3 separate regions of the Homo sapiens genome follow, and all the other regions are linked to region 1. Evidence: promoter capture Hi-C in 16 types of primary human blood cells and fetal thymus (Javierre and others, 2016). All regions are on one chromosome and are shown on one strand. The core of a region is centred on a gene start or on the middle of the fragment in contact, and the rest is flanking DNA. Distances in the headings are between cores, read along the strand shown. Region 1 holds the start of PF4V1 (platelet factor 4 variant 1). Region 2 overlaps MTHFD2L (methylenetetrahydrofolate dehydrogenase (NADP+ dependent) 2 like). Region 3 overlaps RASSF6 (Ras association domain family member 6).

What was found. The method cuts DNA at HindIII sites, captures the fragments that hold promoters and counts their contacts. A CHiCAGO score of 5 or more calls a contact.
Region 2: a contact is called between a fragment that was not itself captured here and the fragment with the promoter of PF4V1 in region 1, in 1 of 17 cell types (neutrophils). The highest score is 5.8, in neutrophils.
Region 3: a fragment that was not itself captured here is called in contact with the fragment with the promoter of PF4V1 in region 1 in 1 of 17 cell types (megakaryocytes); the score reaches 5.3 in megakaryocytes.

Annotation. Positions count from the first base shown.
Region 1 is chr4:73,851,423-73,855,045 of GRCh38, reverse strand. PF4V1 (platelet factor 4 variant 1) reads right to left here and starts at 1,750. Exons shown (of 3, transcript NM_002620.4): 1 at 1,584-1,750; 2 at 1,137-1,263; 3 at 563-1,011. The coding sequence starts at 1,683. The coding sequence ends at 924. The HindIII fragment of the contact is 5,836 bases long and covers 1-3,623 here.
Region 2 is chr4:74,163,183-74,166,805 of GRCh38, reverse strand. All of the region lies in intron 1 of MTHFD2L (methylenetetrahydrofolate dehydrogenase (NADP+ dependent) 2 like), which reads right to left. Among named protein-coding and RNA genes, the nearest start is that of MTHFD2L, 6.9 kb to the right of the region's middle. RefSeq lists an enhancer at 1,891-2,020. The HindIII fragment of the contact is 3,104 bases long and covers 302-3,405 here.
Region 3 is chr4:73,569,722-73,573,344 of GRCh38, reverse strand. RASSF6 (Ras association domain family member 6) reads left to right here. Exons shown (of 11, transcript NM_177532.5): 11 at 1-1,795. Among named protein-coding and RNA genes, the nearest start is that of RASSF6, 49 kb to the left of the region's middle. The HindIII fragment of the contact is 2,602 bases long and covers 747-3,348 here.

The DNA.
Region 1 (3,623 bases), core at 501-3,000:
TATTAGAGAACTTGAGTTGGAAAGCGTTTCTGAATTATCCAAGTGAGCCCAATGTATTCACACGCCTCCTTATGAGAGGTAAGCCGGATATAAAAGGTAGAAGAGTCAGCAGAGACAGAGGAGAAGTAGAGGTTGGTGTGATGCAGGTTGAAGACTGGAGAAAGGGCTATGAGGCAAGGAATGCTGGTGAAAAAGGAGAGGAAGTAGATTCTCTTCTAGAGCCTTCAGAAGGAATACAGCTCTGAGGACAGCTTGAGTTTAACCTTTAAGACTTACTTTGGACTTGAGACCCCTAGAATTACAAGACGATAAATTTGTGTTGGTTAAGCCACTGAGTTTGTGGTAATTTCTTACAGAAGCAACAGGAAACTAATATGCCCACATTATAACACCTTCATTTCTCCCCAGTGTAGAGCAATGTCTTCCTAAAGGATGAATGAAAATATTACCTCACACTTCTCTTAGTTCCCAGAATCTTAATATCACCAATGTTAAGGAATTTGTGGGGATAAAAGCAGAGTGTTGCTTATTTACTTCATTGAAAAAAAAAAAAGCTGTCGAGTAATGCTTAAGAGCTACTAATATTTATTGGCAAGCTAATTGTAACATTCAAGGTAAATATGTAGCTATAAAGTACTGCAATCACATAAATGAACAAATATGTATCAGCTAACATATAACACTGAACAAAATCAGTCTTTATTAAACCAAGCCTTCCTTCATAATGCTTTTTGCTTAAAATTCTGGAAATTTTAAAATATGAAATTGTGATGTGTCAGCATTATTTTTGCAGTATTATTAAGAAATAGATTGACTATACCACAACTTGATTTATTTCGTTAATATAATATAAGAAGGATAATACAAACATCAGAAGATTCTTTCACAGTTAGATTGAAAGTGCACACTTAGGCAGCTAGTAGCTAACTCTCCAAATGTTCCTTAATGATTTTCTTGTACAGCAGGGCTTGCAGATCCAAGCAAATTTTCCTCCCATTCTTCAGCGTGGCTCTGGCAGGGAAAAGAGAAGAGACGTGACTTTCAGTCCTTGGGTTTGCAAATGGCATTAGAAGGGGGAGGGATGGGCAGAGGAGGCACGGAGCGGGAGCACTAACTGATGCAGTGCGAGGACTCACATGAGTTGGGCAGTGGGGCAGTGGGGTCCGGCCTTGATCACCTCCAGGCTGGTGATGTGCCTGGGACGGACCTGGGAGGTGGTCTTCACACACAGGCACTGCAGGTCCCCATCTTCTTCAGCTTCAGCTGAGGGGGAAAGGGAGGGAGTAAGAGAGGAGGAGGGGTGGGAGTTGTGACTCCCTGAGTAGCCAGAGATACTTTAGGGACCTTTTCCACTACCTTCAGCTTTCTTTTCCTTAGCCGTAAATCAGACCTCTCTCAGACAGAGGTTGTGCTGATCAGGTGGCGAGGTGCACGTGCAGTGCCTGGCACTGTACCCGCAGACTCAGCACGCGCGCAATAAGAGCAGCTGCGATCATGATCCTAGAGGATTCCTCCCCAGCCCCAGGGCTTCCCGGACTCCCCCTCGCCGCTGCTGGCCCTCCCAGCCTGGTTTCTGCTCTCACCTCTGGCGAAGGCGACCACAACTGGCAGGAGCAGCAACGCCAAGAACAGCATCTCCTGGCGGGTGGCGCGGGTGAGGCGGGACCTGGCTGCGGAGCTCATGTTGCAGCTGAGGTTCCAGCAGGATCCCAGTGCGCAGGGAAAGTCGGGCTGGGGTTCTGCAGGCAGTGACTCCTGGCCTCACCAGGCTTCTTTTATCCCCCGTCACTGTCCCACTGTCCTTCCAGTCCGGAAGCCTGGGGTGGACAGCGAGGAACTGTGGTGCAGGAGCTAAGACACTGCTATGAAGACTCAGACTCTGGCCAGCCAAGATTACAAAACAAAAGGCTGGGGGCAGCTGCCTTGGCTAGGAGGTGGTACAAAGATGCATACCTCCAACCTCAGTTTATATACACTTACATTTGTGGAGTTAGAAACACTACTTGCATCTTAGAAGAGAAATATTTTCTGTGTTGTATCATAGTAGAGTTCTCTGTAGTCACCAAGCAACTTACACAGCAGGTGGCTTCAGGACCCAGACAGTTCTTGTTTCCTTCTCAACTCAAGAACTGCCCATATGCTCCTAACTTCAGTCTTGATTACCATTGAGTTTGATGGCTGTGTGTTTGAAGAGTGTGCTATTTGCAATTGTTTTCTAATACTAATAAGTTTAATTTGGTCTCTAGGTGATGACTCTTCTGAATTTCACCTGAATGTGGAAAACTTCCCTAGTCTCTGGATGAGATTTACCAGGCTCCACCAACAATCACCCAGTATACTGTAGGATGCAAGATCTATTTCCCGTTACTCTTAGAAAAATTGCAGAAGTAATATTTGAATGCATTATTTTTATAAAAACTTAGCTCCTGGATGTTTCTTCATTGTTTCAATCCTGAATAATAGTCCAGAAGAGAGGACAAGGAGAGTTTGCCAGGCCATGTCTTCCAGAGCCTGCTGTGTCCTCAGTCACTGCCAGTGACAGGGTGAGATGGGCTGCACTGTTGGCAGGGAGCAGTGATGCTCTCTGTGGGAGGATTCAGGGCATCTGGGAGTTGGGTGTGAGAATGATGGGAGGTGACAGTGAAGGGGATGCAACAGAATCCCACACGGGAAAGGGGAAGAGATCCATATCGACCGTTTTCTCTTCTCTAAAAAAGAATGACTTTGGCTCTTGATCAGGGCAAGGTACACCCTCAACCCAAAGCCCAAGGTTCCCTGTCACTCTGACTAACAGTGGTGAAGGGTGTCAGGGACCCACTGGATGGAACTAGCTGATATTCTAATGCTCAGCAAACCTGCATTTTTGTAGGAATATGCAATTCTTTCTCCTACTCTCCCTACACCTGCCTATTCAGCTGGCTAAGACCTATTCATATTTCTGGTGTCAGCTTAAATATCACTTCCTCAGGTGTGCCTTCCCTGACAGCTATATATAATTGTGTTCCCTTGTTGTTCTATCTTGCAGAACTCTGTTCTTCGTATTTCTCACAGAATACACAAACATACACACACATATATTGTAGATATATATATATATATGTGTGTGTATGTGTATCTGTGTATTTAAAAGTGTTTAAAATTGTTTTGTTTCTTAAATGGAAAACACTGTGACATTAGATATCATAACGTTTATCACTATTTCAATGTACTGGTAGGGACTCAGTGCAAAGTAGCTACAGTAGTGAAGATAATGTGTTGAAAATGATGATGATGAGGCTTTGACGTGTTCCTATGTCTATTCAATTGGAGCAATTAGAGCATATAATTGGAACATACATCTATATTGACACGTGTCACATATGGTCAAAATTATTTGTCCACTTGTCTGCCTCTCCCACAAGATAGTGATCTCTTCAATAGCAATTCTCTGTGACTTATGTGCAGTCACCCACCACATAACAACGTTTTGGGCAGTAATAGACTGTATAAGTGATGATGATCCCATAAGACTATAGTGGAGCTAAAAAATTCCTATTGCCTTGTGATACCATAGCTGTTGTAAAATCATAGCAAGCCAATGTATTATTCATGTGTTTGTGGTAATGCTGGTGTAAACAAACTTA
Region 2 (3,623 bases), core at 604-3,103, 310 kb before region 1:
GCAGGCTTACAGTGTGGGTCCATGAGTTTCTACCTGATGCCTAAGTCTGCAGAGGCTCAGCTGGAATCTTTGGATGCTGCCCTGGCATTAGTGCAGGCCTAGAGCCTGGGTCTGCAAGGACTGGCCTACAAGCTGTGTCTGTGGGGGCTGGCCTGGCACTGGGATGGGCAACACTTGTTGCATTTTTTTCAAAAGTTGTTGGTCATTATTAATCAACATATTCAACAAACAGACCAAATGGGAGTAGGGACACCTTCAGATTTAAAGTTTTTAGTGAATTGTAATCAGTGAAACCAAAGCTTACAAACAGAAACCTTATCTCTTCAAAAGGAAGGGAAGAAGTAAACTAATTTAAAAAATCATAGCTCAAACAATGCACAAGTAATTTTAATTTCTGTCCTTACAAGAGAAGACACAGAGACACATAAAAAGGGAAGTGAAGACAGAGAGGGAAGACAACCATTTAACAACAGAGGCAAAGACTGGAGTTATGCAGCTGCAAACTCCTTAGGAACACCAAGGACTGCTGGCAATAACCAGAAGCTAGTCGACAGAGTGTGGGCCTACAGATACTTTGATTTCAGACTTCCAGCCTCCTTCCACTGTTTCCAGTGTGAAAACAGATTTCTGCTGTTTCAAGCTAGCTAGTTTGTGGAACTTTGTATACAGCAGAATTAGTAAATAAATACATCTATAATAGCAATTTTAAATAGTTCAATGTCTGAGAATAATCTTCTGATGGAACTCATATTTTTTGTTGAATAAAATTTCCTGGAATAAATTACCATTTTGTAAAACATTGGAATACAATTGAGAAAAACTTTAATTTTCCCCTATCTAAATATGGTAAACTATTTTTAAAATCATACACAAAAACAACTTATTTCTTTTATCTAAATATTTGTCAAAGAAAAGTACTTTGAAAAGATACACCAACATAGCACCTGTGAAAATATTTAGGCTAAAATATCTTCCCATTTCAATGTGCAAAATGTAGAATTAAGACTGTTCCATTTAGCAGTTTATGTGGTGTTTCAGCATCTATAGAGACAGTACCTTTAAAACTAAAATAACCATTGTCTAAAGCAAAGATTCTATTTGCAACTGTTAAGAAAATTGCAGAAAATTTAATTTTAAAATTAAGCACAAGGGCCGGGCCTAGTGGCTCACGCCTGTAATTCCAGCACTTTGAGGGGCCGAGGCGGGTGGATCACGAGGTCAGGAGTTCAAGACCAGCCTGACCAATATGGTGAAACCCCGTCTCTACTAAAAATAGAAAAATTAGCTGGGCGTGGTGGCATGCACCTGTAGTCCCAGCTACTCGGGAGGTTGAGGCAGGAGAATCACTTGAACCCAGGAGGCGGAGGTTGCAGTGAGCCAAGATCACACCATTGCACTCAGCCTGGGTGACAGAGAAAGACTCTGTCTCAAAAAAAATAAACAAAGCATAAGATCTTATTAACTTTTTTCAGAAAATTATCAGGATCAAGGTGTTAAAAGATACAGCTAAGAAACTGATTCAAGCATGTGAATATGCACCAGGAATAATTGTTCATGCTGAATGTTCATGTAATATAAATTTTTATTTTAACACATAAGGATATAAATTATCTTTTAAAATGTTAATTTTGAAAATGGTCTGAAACTATTCTATAAGTTCACTAATATATTTGTAAGCCAATAGATATTCCAAATATATAATTTTCATTACATTCGTGCCCCTTTTTACTCTAAAAAATGTGCTAGTTTGGCCAAAAAAATTACATAGTGACCTTGCCATTAATGCATATCAAAAATAAAATCCATTTGACCCCTTAGATATTGTTTACATGATGTGCCCTGTCATTACTTGCTCAGGTGGTTTCCCACAAAGGCAGAAATGACCTTCCCCTAAAGGCAAGAAAAGGTGCCCTCCCTTCCAAAAGCCCAGCCTACTGCTGGGCTAGCCACGAAATGTGGCTTCATCAGGAGGCAAAAATTAAAGAAGGGAGGTGGTGGCTAGTGAGTAGCAGGGCAGCACTATGTAGTACAAACTACTCACCTGAAATTAGAAGTCCTGAGCATCAGAGCTCTGGGTTACCATTAGTAGCAATAATAAAGTTAGGCAAGTCACTTAGCTTCTCTCAACGGCATGCAATTTCTTCATCTATATAATGGGAATACTCTCTTGTTGACCTTACATTACATAAGAGGATTTGGCTAAAAGTTCATGGGCTGGTTTGCAAAAGTGGCTCTTTCTCTTAGTTTCTGCTAAATTACAGATGGAGACATATTTCGATAACCAGAAACATTATGAGAGCAGAAAGTCTTCAGCACTTAGTGCTGTTTCCATGGGCTTGTTTACTTGTACTTCCAGAAAATAAACTAACCACCTTATCTACGCTTATTAGAATCAAATGATTTATTTAATAAACTAGAGCAAAATAACAAAGGGGGAGGATTATTTCTATGTATCAAAATACTCTTCCACAAAAAAGTAGCTTACCAACAAATAAAACCTAGTCAAGATCAAGAGTTTATTTAATTCGTATACTTGGCAAATCCATATCTTAGTTTCAATCTCATCTTTATTCACGACTTCAACTAGAGCTGCAATGAACCATTTTATCTCTATAATGTTGAAAAAACCTGGCCAGGCATGGTGGCTCACGCCTGTAATCCCAGCACTTTGGGAGGCTGAGGCGGGCGGATCACGAAGTCAGGAGATCAAGACGCATCCTGGCTAACACGGTGAAACCCCGTCCCTACTAAAAATACAAAAAATTAGCCGGGCGTGGTGGCGGGCGCCTGTAGTCCCAGCTACTTGGGAGACTGAGGCAGGAGAATGGCATGAACCCGGGAGGCAGAGTTTGCAGTGAGCCAAGATCGTGCTATTGCACTCCAGCCTGGGTGACAGAGCAAGACTCTGCCTCAAACAAAAAACAAAACAAACAAACAAAAAAAGACGAAAAATCCTAATAGAATGATTAACAATTCCAAGCTCTACCCAGGCCCTAACATACAGTTTAATTGCTTTATATCTTAGGGCATATCTTCGATGTCTTGAGTTTGTACAATAGAAATGAAACCCCCCAAAAACAGGGCAAAATTCCATAGGGAATAAAACCAATCACCAGTATAGGGAGTCTTTTGAAGTGTGTTATTAAAATAAATGAATACCTGCAAGTGTTAAGTTTATGACCTCTTTAAAAAAATTTGTTTCATACCCCAAGTACCCTATTCACATCTTGAAGTAATTTTACTAGAAATTACATCTGCAAATCAATAAAAAGTAAAATACCTTTTCATTATATATGACTCTTCTTCGTATCCAGTTTTTTAACTAGTTAACTTTCTGACTCTGTACTAAACAATATCCATTGTTTTCAAACTAACTTTGTCAGAAAGAACCTTAGATGCTAAGCTTTGTGCCACAAAAGCTCTTGGCCTATCTGCTGAAACCTGTGGACTCTTTCTCAGAACAATCCTTTTAAACATTCAATATAAAATACAGATTACAAGGAAAACCAGTTTTACTGAAATATTATCAAATGCTTTTTTTTAAAAGTATTAAATAACAGGATCTAGTGGTAGGTCTAACTACCATAACAAAATAGTGATGTGCAGATGATGTTTTGTGGTAT
Region 3 (3,623 bases), core at 798-3,297, 280 kb after region 1:
ACCAGCCTGGCCAACATGGTGAAACCCTGCCTCTACTAAAAATACAAAAAATGAGCCGGGTGCAATGGCAGGCACCTATAATGCCAGCTACTCGGGAGGCTGAGGCAGGAGAATCGCTTGAACCCGGGAGGCGGAGGTTGCATGAGCCGAGATGGCGCCACTGCTCTCCAGCCTGGACGACAGAGCAAGACTCCGTCTCTAAAAAAAAAAAAAGAGGGAAATAAACATTTATTTGTATATTGTTATGTAGCCATTAAAATTCTGTTTCCAAGTAATTTTAATTACAGGGGTAAATTCTTATATATCTAAATAAGAATATACACATACACATGTTCCAAAATATTTATTATGTACTTAAGGCATATATATTATATATGTATGTGTGTGTATATATATATGTATTTGTGTGTGTGAACACTAATATTTGCATATATATACACACAAGAAATAAAAACATGTTAAAAATGGCTATATCTGCATTGTAGAATTATGAGTGATTCATGTTTTTCTAACTTCCCTATCTGTATTAAGTGTTCTATAGTTTATATTTGTTACTTTTTACATCAGGAAATAGTAAAGTTATTATTTAAAACTTATGAACAAAAAAGTAACAAGCACATGCAAGCACAGAGTTCTACCAAATGCAAAAAATTTCAAATCAATTATTCAAATGAGACATTAACATCACTTCTGTGGTAGTTTTATATCCATAAAGTCTGATTCTTCTCCTTTGAAGAGATGAAGCTTAATCTTCCTCATCCTGAAAATGGGCTGGACTTAGTGACTTACGTCTTTTTATTTTATTTTTAATTGACAAATAATAATTGTATGTATTTATGGGGTACAATATTATATTATTATATATGTATACATTATGGAATTATTAAATCAAGCTAATTAACATATCCATAACCTCTTATAATTTCTTTGTGGTGAGAACATTTAAAAATGTACTCTTTTAGCAATTAGGGACTTACTTTTAATACAGGAAAATGGAAGAGACTGTGAGACTTTGAAGTAGGTCATAAAAGTCACTGTGGCTTCCTCCTTGCTCTCTCTTGGACCACTTGCTCTGGGGGAAGTCAACTGCCATGTCCTGAGCAGCCCTGGAAAGACCTACATGATGAAGAACTGAGACCTTCTATCAAATGCCAGCAGGGAATTGAGGCCTCCTGTCAACAGCCATTTTAGAAGTAGATCTTCCAGCCTCAGTCAAGCCTTCAGATGACTGCAGCCCTGTCTAATAGCTTGACCGTAATTTCATGAGAGACCTTCAGCCAGAAAACCCAAGGAAACCATTCTGGATTCCTCATCCTCAGAAACTGTATGAGATAAGAAGTGTTTGTTGTAGTACGCCGCTAAATTTGGGGCAATTTGTTACATAGCAATGTATAGCTCATACAATTTCTGGGAAAAAAATAGTTTATTTTCGAATCATTTTTGCATAATGCAAGAATATAAACTTGTCACAGAATAATTTATCCTTGTTTTAGGTGGTCCAAATATTTCATTGTCAGTTATATATTAGCTCAAATTAAATTTTAGATAATATATATTATTATTAATGGTAAAGAATGTGTCACATTTATCTTTATAGCTTTTCTGTACCTAATATTGTGTCTTGTGCGTAGGATGTGCTCAATAAAAATTGATTGAATAAATAAGTGAATGAAAGAATAAATGAATGAGTGAAGGAATTATCTGAAATATTTTTATAAAATTCCCCATATGTATGTATTACTTATTACAAGTCTGGTCCCATAGCTGAAAAAATATTAAACATTATATATATATATATGTTTTTCCCTGATATAGTGGTATATTTTATTATCTCTTGGCTCTACTATGAAATATTCAGTTAGGTGTCATTACTGTTTAATTTGGTTTAGGGCTATTTAGATTGGTTTTTGAAACTGAAGGGGAAAGAAGCCCCTTGCAATGCAATTGATGAAGTGATAAAGACAGCAGGTATAACTATTAGGTGGAGGCATATATATGGGAAAGAACAAGAAATAGGATGTAGTTACAGAGGGCAAAACCTTTCAATGACATTCATTTGTCTTCTAAATTAATAACATCTAATACCTATTAGATTGAGCCATTTGAAATTGCCAATATTTGACCTACAAAGGCAATGATTTCATATTGTTCAAACTAATAACAACTTATTTGCTGGGCACTACGTTTAATATTCATTACAATTCCATAAGGAAATTATTCTTTCAACCTCATGCTACAGATAAAGAAAGTAAGCCATGGAGCAGTTAGGAGATTTGCCAAGGTTTTTAGTAGAAGAAATAGGTAGGATTTAAACTTATGGCTCCAGAAGCCATACAGTTAACCACCATAATCTGTGGCTTCCCCCGAACTATGCTTCCCGAATCTGCCATTCTAAAATGTGTCCTCATTTTTAAGTGGAATAATAGTACCTACTTCATTGGACAGTTGGGGGAGTTACAAGAATAGCACATGTAAAGCCTGGCACTTTGCACATAAGAATGTGATAAATATTAGCTATGTTATAATTAAACTTCAGTATATTCCCCAACCACCATCGTAGCCTTATCTTCTACTAAGACTTACTGCCCACAGCTATGTCATTTTTGTCTTAAAACCAGCCAAACTAAATCACTCAGCCTTCCCTGAAACACTGCACACTTTAGCACATCTCTTTCTGTTGAAACATTCCCATTTTCTAGTCCCTGGTTAGGGTCCCTTCTTCCATTACCTTTCCTGGTCTCTGTAACAATGTGTGATCTCAAGCTCCTGTGTACCACAGTTTCAGTTAGCTCTGCTCTTGTGACACCAGAATTTTGAAATTTGCCTTTTATTATAATTCTTTATGTGCTTATATCTTGTATAAATGCATTAGTGATCTGGTGAAATCATATTCATATTTGTATTATTCCTTGTAGTATCTAGCACAGTGTATTGAATGCATTAGGTACTCAGCAAATGTTTATTGGATCTAATTCACTAATGCATATGAATGTGTTGAAGTCACTGAAGTGAGGAAAAATAATTAAACTCAAGGAAAGGGTATTAGAATGATAATTAATTTTTTTATAGTTCTCTAATCAAAATAATTCATTTATTTAAGCACTTAGTTTTACTTTATCTTTTATACAAAAATATCTGGAAAAATAAAAACAAGTCCAAATGATACCCATCAGTTCTTTATGTCTTTTGCAGAAAGATTTCCAAAGAAAAAAAGTACTATCACAAATAATCACTTCAAGCTCAAATTAATTTAAGTGCATTATATTGTATTGGTGCCAATACAGCATCACATATTTAGGGTAAAGATTAAAGGTGAAACCTTTAGGAAGGTAACTTTATTATGAAGCTTATGATTAGGAAGGTAACTTTATTATGAAGCTTATTTCATTCAGTTTGGCAATAAACATTTTCAGTATTGGCATAGACAAAAACTCCAAGTTGCTTTTAGGGTTTTGTTCACTGTGGAAACTTGGCAGACAATTCCCAGCTTGGTGTGAGAGCCCATCACATCTACCTGAGCCCTTTGAAAGCTGTTTGATTTCATGTTTCTGTTTCTGCTCTTGAGAAGAAGAAAGCTTGTTGTTGAGAGAGAGGGGTAATTACGGTGGGTTTTCTGAGGGTTA